2 separate regions of the Homo sapiens genome follow, and region 1 is linked to region 2. Evidence: promoter capture Hi-C in human tissues and cell types (Jung and others, 2019). All regions are on one chromosome and are shown on one strand. Each heading gives the region's core, a stretch centred on a gene start or on the middle of the fragment in contact. The rest is flanking DNA. Distances are from core to core; before and after follow the strand shown. Region 1 overlaps SPG7 (SPG7 matrix AAA peptidase subunit, paraplegin). Region 2 holds the start of CBFA2T3 (CBFA2/RUNX1 partner transcriptional co-repressor 3).

Region 1 (6,247 bases), core at 218-2,717, 540 kb before region 2:
ACATAACTCACTTCAATCAGTCATCTAAAAACAAACGGCTGATACCACTGAGTCTCAAGGAAGCAGCCACAGGGGCCACATCAGGCTCATCCCACTTGGAAACCGCCCCTGAAGACAGCAGCCCCGAGCGCCACAGCTGACCCTGACAGAGGAGAGGCCTCCGGGGCAGGGGCTCCACCTTGACGCATTCACACTTCACAGTGGAAAGGGGCCTTCTCCACAAGAAGCTGTGTGAAAATGTTAGCAACTGCTGCCGGGCGCGGTGGCTCACGCCTGTCATCCCAGCACTTCGGGAGGCTGAGGCGGGTGCATCACCTGAGGTCGGGAGTCTGAGACAAGCCTGACCAACATGCAGAAACCCCATCTTTACTAAAAATACAAAAAATCAGCCAGGTGTGGTGACGCATGCCTGTAATCCCAGCTACTCGGGAAGCTAAGGCAACAGAATGGCTTGAACCCGGGAGGCGGAGGTTGCGGTGAGCTGAGATCGCGCCACTGCACTCCAGGCTGGGCAACAAGAGCGAAATTCCGTCTCAAAAAAAGAAAAAAAAAATGTTAGCAACTGCTTTTTTTCTAGTTTTCTAGTTCTAGTTAGCAACCGTGAAGTAACTGTACCTTCACATGTAGTTGTAAGAAATGGCACAGAGCAGGCTGGGCGCAGTGGCTCACACCTGTAATCCCAGCACTTTGTGGGGACCGAGGCAGGCAGATGATGAGGTCAGGAGTTCGAGACCAGCCTGACCAACATACTGAAACCCCATCTCTACTAAAAACAAACAAAATTAGCTGGGTGTGGTGGCACGCGCCTGTAATCCCAGCTACTCAGGAGGCTGAGGCAGGAGAATCGCTTGAACCCGGGAGGTGGAGGTTGCAGTGAGCAGAGATCGAGCCACTGCACTCCATCCTGGGTGACAGAGCCAGACCCCATCTCAAAAAAAAATAAATAAATAAAAATAAATGACGCAGAGCAATACCTTGTCCCCCTGCTTCCAGGGGTTCCATCTCACAAAACTATGAACAGTATCACAGCCAGGCTCTCCCACCACGACGGTCCACCAAGCTCCCCGGGGTCATCCCATGACACACGCGCAGTGTGTGCCCACCGCAGCTGAGGCAATCCAACCACAGGCTCCCTCCGGCTGTCTCCTTCCCCCATCCTTAACCCCTAGCAACCACGAATCTGTGTTCCATCTCTTTAATTTTTGTCTTTAGAGAATGCTGTATAAAAAAAAAATCATACGGCATGTGATCTTTCAGCTCGGCCTTTTTTCACTCCGTATAATTCCTTCTGGGTTCACCCGCGTTATCAGTGAGCGGGGCCTTTTTTCCACTCCGTGTAATTCCTTCTGGGTTCACCCGCGTTATCAGTGAGCGGAGTCTTTTTTCCACTCTGTGTAATTCCTTCTGGGTTCACCCGCCTTACCAGTGAGCAGGGTCTTTTTTCACTCCGTGTAATTCCTTCCAGGTTCACCCGCGTTATCAGTGAGCGGAGCCTTTTTTCACTCCGTATAATTCCTTCCAGGTTCATTCGTGTTATCAGTGAGTGGTGCCTTTTTTCACTCCGTATAATTCCTTCCAGGTTCACCAGTGTTATCAGTGAGTGGTATTCCAAGCAAATACTTTTCGGGCAACCACTACTTACAATCATTCTGCACGGCTGGCAAAGCTGTTTCTAAGCCACATTCAGTATCGTTCTTTCATTTAAGGAGGTGGCAAAAGAATCTTCATCTGAACAGACGCCATGCAGTTCAGCATCAGACCAGGGAGAAGGCCTGCCTGAGGGCCGGGACTGTGTTGTGCCTGTCTGATCAAGTCAGCAGTCCTGAAAATCCACACAAACCAACTCCCGCCGAAACCACAGCAGAGGGCCCAGGGGAAACCCAGAATAGGTTCTCACAAGAAAGATTATTTGGCTCAGTAAACAATTATCCTCTAACGCAAATTTAACAGACATTATTTTCTCCAAGCAAACTATAGTTCAACCCAAAACAGAATAAACATAAAACAATCACTTGGCCGGGCGTGGTGGCTCACGCCTATAATCCCAGCACTTTGGGAGGCCGAGGTGGGCAGACCACAACGTCAGGAGATCGAGATCATCCTAGCTCACATGGTGAAACTCCGTCTCTACTAAAAACACAAAAAATTAGCCGGGCATGGTTGCGGGCACCTTTAGTCCCAGTTACTCGGGAGGCTGAGGCAGGAGAACTGCTTGAACCCACGAGGTGGAGTTTGCAATGAGCCGAGATCGTGGCATTGCACTCCAACTTCGGCAACAAGAGCGAAGCTCCATCTCAAAAAAAAAAAAAAAAAAAAGACGACGACAATTACTCAGATGCAGGAGAGACACGCATGTCAGCTACACGCAGCCTCATCCATAAGCAGATGCAGGGCCCAGGAGAGCAAAGGGCATGGTGACTGCCTGCCCTTCCTCACGCCAGGGCACCTGCCAATGCAGCAACGACTAGGATTTCACTGGACAAGCACCTACCACATGCCAGGAGTGATAACCAGGAAGCTGCCATGGCTTTGCCTTGCCATGGCAACGGAGGCTGCCATGCCATTCCTTCCAGGAACCATGACAACGGAGGCTGCCATGCCATTCCTTCCAGGAACCATGACAACGGAGGCTGCCATGCCATTCCCTCCAGGAACCATGACAACGGAGGCTGCCATGCCATTCCTTCCAGGAATCAGAGTTATTAGTGGGGCACACGTCCCTGGTTAACCGTAACACAACACACAAGGCTGAATGCAGAATCCGCACAGGCCACACAATTCTTCCCTCTTCTATGACAGGTGACCCTTCAGCAACACAGGAGTGAGCTATGTATGATCACGGACACGTGGATTTTCTTCCACCCCTGCTACCCAAGACAACAAGACCAGCCCCTCGTCCTCCTCCTCAGCCCACTCAAGGTGAAGGCCATGAGGATGAAGCTCTTTATGGTGATCCGCTTCCACTGCATAAATAGGAAATATATTTTCTCTTACGACTTTTTTCTTTTTTCTTTTTTTTTGAGACAAGAGTCTCGCCGTCGCTTTTTTCTTTCTTAATTTTTTTTTTTGAGACAGAGTCTTGCTGTGTCGCCCAGGCTGGAGTGCAGTGGCGCGATCTCGGCTCACTGCAAGCTTCGCCTCTTGGGTTCACGCCATTCTCCTGCCTCAGCCTCCCGACTAGCTGGGGTTACAGGTGCCCACCACCACGCCTAATTTTTTTTTTTTTTTGTATTTTTAGTAGAGACAGGGTTTCACCGTGTTAGCTAAAATGGTCTCGATCTCCTGACCTTGTGATCTGCTCGCCTTGGCCTCCCAAAGTGCTGGGATGACAGGCATGAGCCACCACGCCCGGCCTTTTCTTTCTTAATTTTTTATGTTTGAGACAGAAAGGTCTCACTCTATTATCCAGGCTGAAGTGCAATGGCACAATCTCAGCTCCCTGCAACCTCTGCCTACCAGGTTCAAACGATGCTCACGCCTCAGACTCCGGAGTAGCTGGGATTACAAGCACGTACACCACACCTGGCTAATTTTTTTTTTTTTTGGTATTTTTAGTAGACAAGGGGTTTCACCATGTTAGCCAGGCTGGTCTCGAACTCCTGGCCCCAAGTGATCTAACTTTCTTCTTTTATTAAAAAAACGAACGGCCGGGCGTGGTGGCTCACACCTGTAATCCCAGCACTTTCGGAGACCAAGGCGAGTGGATCACCTGAGGTGAGAAGTTTGAGACTAGCCTGACCAACGTGGCCAAACCAGGTCTCTACCAAAACTACAAAAATTAGCTGGGCTTGGTGTTGCATGCCTGTGATCCCAGCTATTCGTGAGGTTGAGGCAGGAGAATCACTGGAACCCAGGAGGCAGAGGTTCCAGTGATCTGAAATTACGCCATTGCACTCTAGCCTGGGAAACAAGAGTGAAACTCCAGGCTGGGCACGGTGGCTCACACCTGTAATCCCAGCACTTTGGAAGGCCAAGATGGGCAGATCGCCTGACATCGGGAGTTTGAGACCATCCTTGCCAACATGGTGAAACCCTGTCTCTGCTAAAAATACAAAAAATTAGCTGGGCGTGGTGGCGCACGCCTGTAGTCCCAGCTACTCGAGAGGCTGAGGCAGGAGAATCGCCTGAACCCAGGAAGCAGAGGTTGCAGTGAGCCGAGATCGTGCCATTGCACTCTAGCCTGGCGACAGAGCGAGACCCCATCTCAAAAAAAAAAATAATAATAATAATAGTAATAATAATAATAGAAATGAGGGTCTTAAACTCCTGGGCTCAAGTGATCATCCCACCTTGGCCTCCCAAAGTGCTCAGATTACAGGTGTGAGCCACCGCACCTACCCAGCAAATTTTTTTTTATAAAAAGGTCAGCCGGGCGTGGTGGCTCACACCTGTAATCCCAGCACTTTGGGAGGCCGAAGTGGGGAGATCACGAGGTCAGGAGTTCAAGACCAGTCTGGCCAACATGGCAAAACCCTGTATCTACTGAAAATACAAAAATTAGCTGGGCATGGTGGTGCATGCCTGTAATCCCAGCTACTCAGGAGGCTGAGGCAGGAGAATCGCTTGAACTCAGGAGGCAGGGGTTGCACTGAGCCGACATCGCACCACTGGACTCCAGTCTGGGCAACAGAGCGAGACTCCGTTTCAAAAATAAATAAATAAATACAAAATAAAAGTTAAAAAAAAAAAAGGTCCAGGGCTGGGTGCGGTGGCCCACTCCTGTAATCCCAGCACTTTGGGAGGCTGAGGCACGCAGATCACGAGGTCAGGAGATTGAGACCATCCTGGCTAACACGGTGAAACCGAGTCTCTACTAAAAATACAAAAAATGAGCCGGGTATGGTGGCGGGCACCTGTAGTCCCAGCTACTCGGGAGGCTAAGGCAGGAGAATGGCGTGAACCTGGGAGACGGAGCTTGCAGTGAGCTGAGATCACACCACTGCACTCCAGCCCAGGCGACAGAGCGAGACTCCGTCTCAAAAAAAAAAAAAAAAAAAGGTCAAGGCCAGGCACGGTGGTTCACACCTGTAATCTCAGCACTTTGGGAGGCCAAGGTGGGTGAATCACCTGAGGTCAGGAGTTTGAGACCAGCCTGGCCAACAAGACAAAACCTCATCTCTACTATACAAAAAGAGGGCCTGACGCGGTGGCTCACGCCTGTAATCCTAGAACTTTGGGAGGCCAAGGTGAGCAGATCACAAGGTCAGGAGATCGAGACCATCCTGGCTAACATGGTGAAACCCAGTCTCTAATAAAACAAAAAAATTAGCCGGGTGCGGTGGCGGGTGCCTGTAGTCCCAGCTACTAGGGAGGCTGAGGCAGGAGAATGGCATGAACCCAGGAAGTGGAGCTTGCAGTGAGCCGAGATTGTGCCACTGCACTCCAGCCTGGGCGACAGAGCGAGACTCCGTCTCAAAAACAAACAAACGAACAAAAAACAAAAAATTAGCAGGGTGTGGTGGTGAGCACCTGTAATCCCAGCTACTTCGGAGGCTGAGGCAGGAGAATTGCTTGAACCCGGGAGGGGGAGGTTGCATTGAGCTGAGATCGCACCACTGCACTCCAGCCGGGGCAACAGAGTGAGATTCTGGCAAAAAAAAAAAAAAAAAAAAAAAAAAAAAAAAGTCAAAGGACACACTTTATTGAAATGTTGAAGTATACAGGGAAAGAGCCCTGAAATCAATTCAGAACAATTTTGTATGAAGATTCAGAAGTCTTTTAGAAGATAGTTCTGAGTGGCTGTAAGCATTGACACTTACCGTAAAACCAACAGTAAGCTGAAGATGAGCCTAAAGCCAGAAACGCCTAAACTGAATCCACCTGCGAAACACTGGTGTCCCTTCCCGCAGTTATGACCTCCCCTCGAGAGCTCAGTAGGGAGAGTCAGAGCTCCTCTCTCACAGAGTAAAGCTGTCCCTGGCCTTGGCAAATGCAGCGTCTCACACAAAATCAATCAAGAAGGACGTCACTCCTGAAACAAACTCCTGCTAAACTCGAATTCACAATAATAATCCCCTCATCCAATAGCTGAACCATCATTTCCACATCCTGAAAGCTTTCCTGAAAAGCAACATGGGAAGAAAAAGTCCTTATGACAGTTCCTCACTCGCCTTCCAAGGCCAGGTGCCTTTCTAGAAAGATGAGCTCTGCTGAGCAGGGCGTCCATCTTAACAACGCTGATTTCCAGCGAGAGGCCTCAAGGATCCAAAAGCAAAGCATTCCTGAAGCTGAGTTCAACCCTTCTGCC
Region 2 (7,290 bases), core at 1,394-3,893:
TCTATCCATCCACCCACCCATCCACCCACTCACTCACTCACCCATCTATCCACCCACTCACCCATCTATCCACCCATCCATCCACCCATTCACTCATCCACCCACCCACCCATCCACCCATCATCTACCCACCCATCCACTCACCCACCCACCCATTCATTCATCAATCTATTCATTCATCTATTCATCCAGCAGTGAAGGGTGTGTGTGTTGGGGGTGGGGGGGTTCCTACATGCTAGAAGAGAAGGCAAACATAAGACACCCTGCCTGAAGGAAGGCCTCCTCACCCACCCCCACATGGCGTCATCTCCCCCACTGCCCCCTCACCCTCCTCCAGTTCTCTGGCCATCCTACAGATTCACCAAAGCCTGCCTTAGGGCCCCTCTGCCCACCCAGGGACAGTTTCCCCAACTGCCCTATGGGCCCCACATGCTGGGCCATGTTGATGGAACGTGTCTCCTATAGTTCCCAGAGAGCAGGACCAGGGGCTGTCTTGGACACCGAAAGAACCCCAGTAGGCCCTAATAGGTCTTTTAGGAAGGAAGGAAAGGCCCCTCCTGCCCCGAGAGGCTGGGTGCTGGCTGCAGACAGCAGAGGTCCCTGGGAGAAGCCGAGGCCCCTCCTGCTGCCCCCACCTCTGCAGCCACTTCCTCCCCAGCCCCTTATCTCCTGGCCGCCCAGCTCTGAAAGCCACAGCCAACGTCTGCTTCCCCACAAGCACCAACTGCCCGGCCTGGGGGAGAGGAGGCCGGTAGTGGGGAGGTGGGGAGTGGTGCCCACACCCCCAGGTGGCCGCCAAAGTTGGGGGGCAGCTCCTGCCCCCAACTTGTGGGCAACTTTCTTCTCTTCTCTTTCCAACCCCACCTCCGTCAGACCCCCTGATTAGACACCAGGCAAGACGGGGCCAGGCGGGGAGCTCAGGGCCTCATTGCGAAAGTGGAAGTGTCCCATCTGTGGGGGGCGCAGGTGCAGGCCTCGAACATCTGCCTCAGGGCTGGGGGCAGGGCTGCCTGTCTCCTACCCCGGGTGGGGGGAGCCACCACCCTCACCCAGGGTGCTGTCCTGCTGCCTCACGGAGTGGGGGCTGTGCCCCCTGAGACCCTCAGTTCCCCGACTCTGAGACTCTCACTGCACACAGCTGGGGAATAGGCACTGACACAGACCAACCCCAGCCACATGCTCACGGTGGCCCCGGCCCATGTGGCGGCTCAGAGCCTCTGCTGTCTCCACTCCCGGAAACGCTGTAGGAGCTGACGCCGTTAGGATCGTGCACCCTGCACAAATGAGGAAACCAGGAGGGTCAGGGCCCCCAGGACCCTCACTGTGAATCCCACCCTGAGCCAGAGCACAGGGAACAGCAGGGGACGTGGGGACCGAATGATGGCACCAGGGGATGGGCCCCGGGCTGGCAGGAATGTCCCCTCCAGCCTCAGTCCTGGGGGCAGAACGGCCGACCACCCAGGGCAGGGGAGGCCCCGGGTGGGCCTGGCGTCTGGGAAGTTCCCCAGCAGGAACAAACACATCCCCACTGTAAGCTGGACACACACGCTGGCATGCAGCTTGTTGTCACCAACTCGAGAAAGACACTCGACTATTGGGACAGGGAGACCCGGGACACCTGGAGACCCTGCGGGGAAGGAGTCGGCTTTTACTCCTGCACGGCTTGAATTATTAACTGCGTGCAAACGTGACCTAAAACTCAAATCAAATCAAATCAAAATAGCACAGATGCCCGTGAGCCGGCCCTGGGTCTGCGGGCTCCACACCTCTGGCCTGTCTGAGGCCGGGAAACCTCCAGCCATGGCATCAGAAAAGCCACCGAACCAGGGCTGCAGGGCCGAAGGGTCACTGTCCCCTCCCAGGAAGCTCCTGCCCTCTGACAGTTGTCAGGGAGCTTTAGAAAGTGGCTTTTTTTCCCAGCATCTGGGATGTGCCTCACTCTCTCAGCCCAACGGCCGCTAGAAAGGGGTCCTAGGACTCTCCCTAGGGTCTAAGTAGTCCCAAGAGTGCTCTGAGGTGGCTTCTGGAATTTCCCAGACTGGAGAAGCCACCTACCCCCGACCCCCGCAAACTCCAGGCTGCTCACCGGAGGCGGCCGCTGGGGCGTGGGGTGAGGGTCTTTCTGAGGCACCCCCGGAGAGTGGGGGAGCCCTGCTGTCTCCACAGAGGGCCAGGAGCCCTGTGCACGAGGCCAAGCAGAGAGAGAGGGTTTCCTTCCCAGCAGGCGGGAGGTACTTTGAGGACAGGTCAGGTGCCCAAGAACCCCGGAGCAGGGGCTGAGGAGAGGCTGGTCAGAGGCCCCGCCTTGCTCAAGGGCACAGTCAGCAGACACAGGAACACGGGCAGGGTGGCCCCTGGAGCGGGGGCAAACTAAAAGGGGTGCTGGGGAAAGCTCGGCTGACTGAGGGCTAGCGGAGAGGGAGGACACCCCCAGATACCCCAGGCTGAAGGAAGGGCCAAGCCCTGGGGGGAAGATGGGTGGGCGGGACAGGCCAAGGGCTCTGGGCCAGGATGGAGCTGCCCTCAGGCCTGCACACCTGCCCTGGGGCCGAGGAAACACATGCCCAGTGGCCACGCTGTAGGGCTCAGGGTGGGTGGGACGTCACCAGAGCTGCCTGGGAGGAGGAAGTTGTTGGAAGGTCAAACCGGAATGGCCCGAGGGAAGGCCGCGCAGGGCAGGGCCCCAGATGGTTCCTGTCAGGGAAGTGGCGGGCGCAGCTGCAGGCCTCCGGCCCCGGCATTATCACGGGGACACAGCTGGCTGCCTCACCCGCAGGCTGCAGGGAGACCTTCCCCAGCCTGCAGCCCCAGGCCCGCCCCGCGTCACATGAGCCCCAGGGCTCCCACCCCCTCCCCAGGGCAGAGGACACCCAGTTGGTGGCCGGGAGGGCCTCGGCTTTCCAGGGACAGAGGCCCAACTCCAGGACGCCCCAGCTGGCCCAGCCCCTCCTCTTTCCCTCAAGGCTGCAGGAGGTCGGGAAAGGCAGTCCTGGTAGAGGCCTGTCCTGGGCTCCAGGTTGGCCCCTGAGGGTGGCCCTCCTCATGCCGGCTTCAAGACTGAGGGACAGGGCAGCCAGTTCAGCCTCGGGATCCACCTGTGGCTCCATGTCCCAGACGCACCCTGTGCTGGAGAGCGGCCTCCTGGCATCTGCCGGCTGCTCCGCACCCCGGGGTCCCAGGAAGGGCGGCCCAGGTAAGAGGCTCGAGGGGAAGGTGGTGGGGTGGGGGCAGAGAGCGGCAGCCGGTGCCGGGGCTGTGACTCCTTAGAGCTTCGCGGGGCCTGCCCAGCTTAGTTGACAGTGCCGGCACGGATGGCCGTGTTGACTCACCTCAGATATCAACAGGGCCACCCCACAGGCAGGTCCTGCACAGCTGGGGCAGGTGGGCTGGTGAGGGTTTGGCAGGTGCCAGCCAGGTGCCCCAGCCCCACCCAGAGGCAGATGCTGGAGGCCGGGCTGCTCAGCCCCGTCTAGGAGGGTGGGCTGTGTTCTCCTGGGGGTGGGAGGGCCGCAGCCGGGAAGTGATGGGGGGGTCCTAGAAAGAGAGCCCTCCTCCTCCTGGGATGCCCTCCGGGTGTGACACCTCACAGCAGGTTGGATGAGGAAACTGAGGCCAGAGGGGAGGGCACTGGCCCAAGACCCCGGTGAGGAGGAAATGGACCCAACCCTGGGCCCCTGTCCGAGGAACGATTCCAGCCAGGGCAGTGGGGGTTTACGGGGAACCTGGGCCTGCCCTTCTGGGGGCTTCGGGCTCTGGGGAGGGGTCCAGTCCAGCAGGACGCCAGCTATTGCTGATACCCCCCACCCGAGCCTGCGAAGTCCCAGGACAAGGATCCCCGGACGCTGGGGGCTGCAGCTGCAGGCTGGTGGCCCCGATTCCCAGTGGCCCTCGTGGCCACACTCCCAGCAGCCGTCGGAACCTTCAGGAGCTCACAGTCTCCCGTCTCGCGGGGCTCTCACTGAGGCCGTCAGGTCCAAGGTCTGACTGCACCCCTGACACTCACACACAGAACCCGGGACCGAGGGGTGTCCCCATCTCTGGAGACCACATTCCCTGAGCAGGTCCTGGCGGCGGCTGCCTGAGGCTGTTCCCACCTGCAGCTGCCCGTGGGGCCCCAGGGCCATCCCCCACAAGGGCCCCAGATGTGAGCAGGAACTTCCCAACCCCGGGTGCCCGGAATGCAAAGGCCGGACCTCACCACAGCCAGTGCTACTGTTCGTTTCTCCCGAATGGGTGACTCAGAGCCACCTTCAAGGCAGCACCAGCCCACTGGCCCTGGCATCTGCCATCCCGTCCTCTCTGGAGCGGCCCTGTCTATCCCCTGGCGCTGAGTGGCCTTGGGCCGGGTGCTTCCTCCCTGGGCCTCAGTTTCCTCATGGTTCAGACCCTTCCGACCTGCTCCCCGCGTGAGAGCAGGTTCTCACCGGCGCGGAGAGAGACGGGCTCTGAGGCGCATGGAGAGCCGCCGCTTTGTTAGGATGGGGGCGTCTACTGTGGAAGGACGGGGGTGTCTACCGTGGAAGGAGGTTAGGGCCAAGAGGTGGCCCCGTGCCTGAGTCATGCGAGGGGCTGCTGGCTAGAGGCATGAAACAGAGGGTCAGGGCGGGCCTCTGACATGGCTGCAGGTGAGGAGCAGAGGGTCAGGGTGGACCTCTGACATGGCTAAAGATGTGGAGCAGAGAGGGTCAGGGTGGACCTCTGACATGGCTGCAGGTCAGGAGCAGAGGGCCAGGGTGGCCTCTAACACAGAGTACCCAGCCACTGTGCCCACCCCCAGGGAGCCCCTGCTTAGGGGCTGCAATGTGAGGAGGGAGCAGGGTCTCACTTGGGTGCGGGGTCCTGCCCCTGGCTTCTAGGGGCTTCTGTCCGTGCAACCACCCGGCCCTATTCCAGGGTACCCATGGGACAGCCTTAGCCACATCAGGCAGCAGAGTTACATGTGAATACCAGCACTTGGGGCTTCTCATCCTGTACCCCAGGGGCCTCCCAAGGCCCCCAGGGGACAGATGTGGGAGCCTTGTGATGCCAGAAAGCCTCGGCATCAAGCCTCGCCTGGCTGGAGGAGCGGGGGCCATGGGGGGCATGGGAACTGCGGGGGGTCCTGGACAGACCTGAGGGCACCTCAGCCCCACTGTGTGGCTGTCAGGCACACAGGCCTCCCAAGAGTTCCTAAAACCTTTGAGGCCTGAAAACAGGCCGATTGGCTTTAAACTCTGGGGAGAACAGTAATATTTCTAAAAGCTGAAGTAGAAGAACCTTCCTGTCTTTAGACCAAAGGCGTACTGAGCAGGGCTGTGTTGCTGCGCGTTTGGTGGCGGGCAGGAGAGACGTCTGTGTGCTGTGCAGGGGGTGGGAGGACCTCAGCCCCTCGTCTCCTCTGACAGCGTCCTGGGGGCTGAGGTGTAAGCAATCAGAAGATGGCCACAGAGCACACGCCGCCGTCTGGGGGCCGGGACCCCTTCCCTGGGCTCCTTCACCAGCCCCCTCACGCGGAGGGTCTGGATCCTCACTGACCCCTGGGCCCAGTGGTGCAGAAGGAACCCCTGAAGACGGTGCTTGCGGTGCTGGGTTTACGAGGCGCCCGCTGTGTGTGCTCGGAGCTGTGCAGGCTCTCACCGCCTTGTCCCCCCAAGCCCACTTTGCAGAAGAAGAGGCGGAGGTCAGAAAGGTGACCTGACTGCCTCAGGAGAGAGGGATGGGAACCAGGTCACCCGAGGAGGGTGCCAGGGACAGAGATTTTGAAATCCACCTGGCAAGTGTAGGCTGAGGCAGAGAAGTTTCAGTGCCATGTGCTGGGACCTCCATGGGGGAGAAACTGAGTCAGGCCTGCCTGGTGTCACCTTAGAGGGACGACGTGGGATCTCGGGGAGGTGGTGAGCACTATCAGTGGAGGGGTGCAGGCAAAGGCGGGCGGGTGTTATGGGGACCGGGCAAGGCGGGAGATGTTATGGGGACCGGGCAAGGCGGGCAGATGTTATGGGGACTGGGCAGATGCTGTGAAGGCACCATCCGTGCAGGAAGCTTGAGCCCTGGCTGGAGCCCACCTGGCAAAGGGGTCACGTCCAGAGCCTGCGGTCAGCCTGGGCTCCCTCTACCCGACCTTGCCCTTGGGGCTGGGCTTTGCCACCACTCACTCTCCATCCTCCATCCCCTCAAGTGGCCATCCAGGCCCAGCTGTCCTCTGGAATGTTGTGGGTCTGGAACGTCCTGGGTCCAGAATGTTCTGGGTCCGGAATGTTCTGGGTTTGGAATGTTCTGGGTCCGGAATATTCTGCATTGGAAGGTTCTGGGTCTGGAATGTTCTGGGTCTGGATTGCCCTCCCCGGGTGTTTCTATCTCCTGGGGCTGCAGTAAGGATGGGCTGCAAGCTGGCTGGGGGCTCAGAACAACAGAGGCTTCTGTTCTCACAGTGCCGCAGGCTGGAAGTCCGAAACTAAGGCGTCAGATGGCCGTGCTCCTCCAGGTCCTGCCTTCTCCAGGTCCTGCTGGTCCCAGGTGTTCCTGGGCTGTGGCCGCCGTGCCGCAGCCACTACCTCTGTCTTTGCAAGGCCGTCTCCTCCCTCCCAAATCTTCCTCTGCCTCCTTCTTCTAAGGCCCAGCCCACCCTAGGCCAGAGCTCCAGCCACTCACTCTGCACTCCAGGCGGTGGGACACAGGGAGGCACTGGAGAGGCTGCAGGCAGCCCCGGTTATGGGAGGTGCCCCATCAAGGGGGCGCGGTGGGAGGGGGAGTGGACATGAGCAGCCGGGCGGTCTCAGCCCGACTCCTCCTTCAGCCGCAGGCCCTGTGTCTGCTGGGCTTTGGAGCTGGTGGATCATGCAGAGCTCGGCCAGGGTGTCTGTGGGCTCCAGCCAGAGGCAGGGAGGTCAGTGTGTGCATGACAAGACGTCTGAGGCCACAGACAGACAGACAGGCAGCCCCAAGGGTGCCTGCAAAGGGGCCGGATGGTAGCTGTCAGACCTGTGTCTGTGAGCAAAGTGCCATCACAGCCATCATCCCAAGGTCCCCAGCACCCTCAGACCTCACCTCCCGCCTCCTGTCCCCCCTTTTGTTGACCACATGGTGTTGGGGGGCTCCATGTCGGGGAGCCAGCCTGGGAGTGCTGCTGTTACTGCTATCACAGAAGAAGAGACTGAGGTTCTGAGAGGCACACAGCAGGCTCTGCTGACCCTGTGGGGCAGAGGCAGATGGGCTGGAGATGTGAGGATCTTGCTGCTGTGAAATCAGACTGACCGTGGAGTCCAGCCCCAGGCTCGGAGGGAAGCTTGCCCTGGAATCCCTCCTGGGTCA

What was found. Contacts are between HindIII fragments. The study calls those that stand out against the background at their distance.
Region 1: a contact is called between a fragment that was not itself captured here and the fragment with the promoter of CBFA2T3 in region 2, in 1 of the 25 tissues and cell types used here (spleen).

What each region holds. Positions count from the first base shown.
Region 1 is chr16:89,513,686-89,519,932 of GRCh38, reverse strand. All of the region lies in intron 3 of SPG7 (SPG7 matrix AAA peptidase subunit, paraplegin), which reads right to left. Among named protein-coding and RNA genes, the nearest start is that of SPG7, 8.4 kb to the right of the region's middle. RefSeq lists enhancers at 1-264, 265-765. The HindIII fragment of the contact is 6,254 bases long and covers 1-4,594 here.
Region 2 is chr16:88,972,560-88,979,849 of GRCh38, reverse strand. It overlaps CBFA2T3 (CBFA2/RUNX1 partner transcriptional co-repressor 3), which reads left to right and starts at 2,643. Exons shown (of 12, transcript NM_005187.6): 1 at 2,643-3,193. The coding sequence starts at 3,043. RefSeq lists enhancers at 2,222-2,271, 4,112-4,321, 3,974-4,518, 6,460-6,619, 6,800-6,869. The HindIII fragment of the contact is 13,654 bases long and covers 1-6,643 here.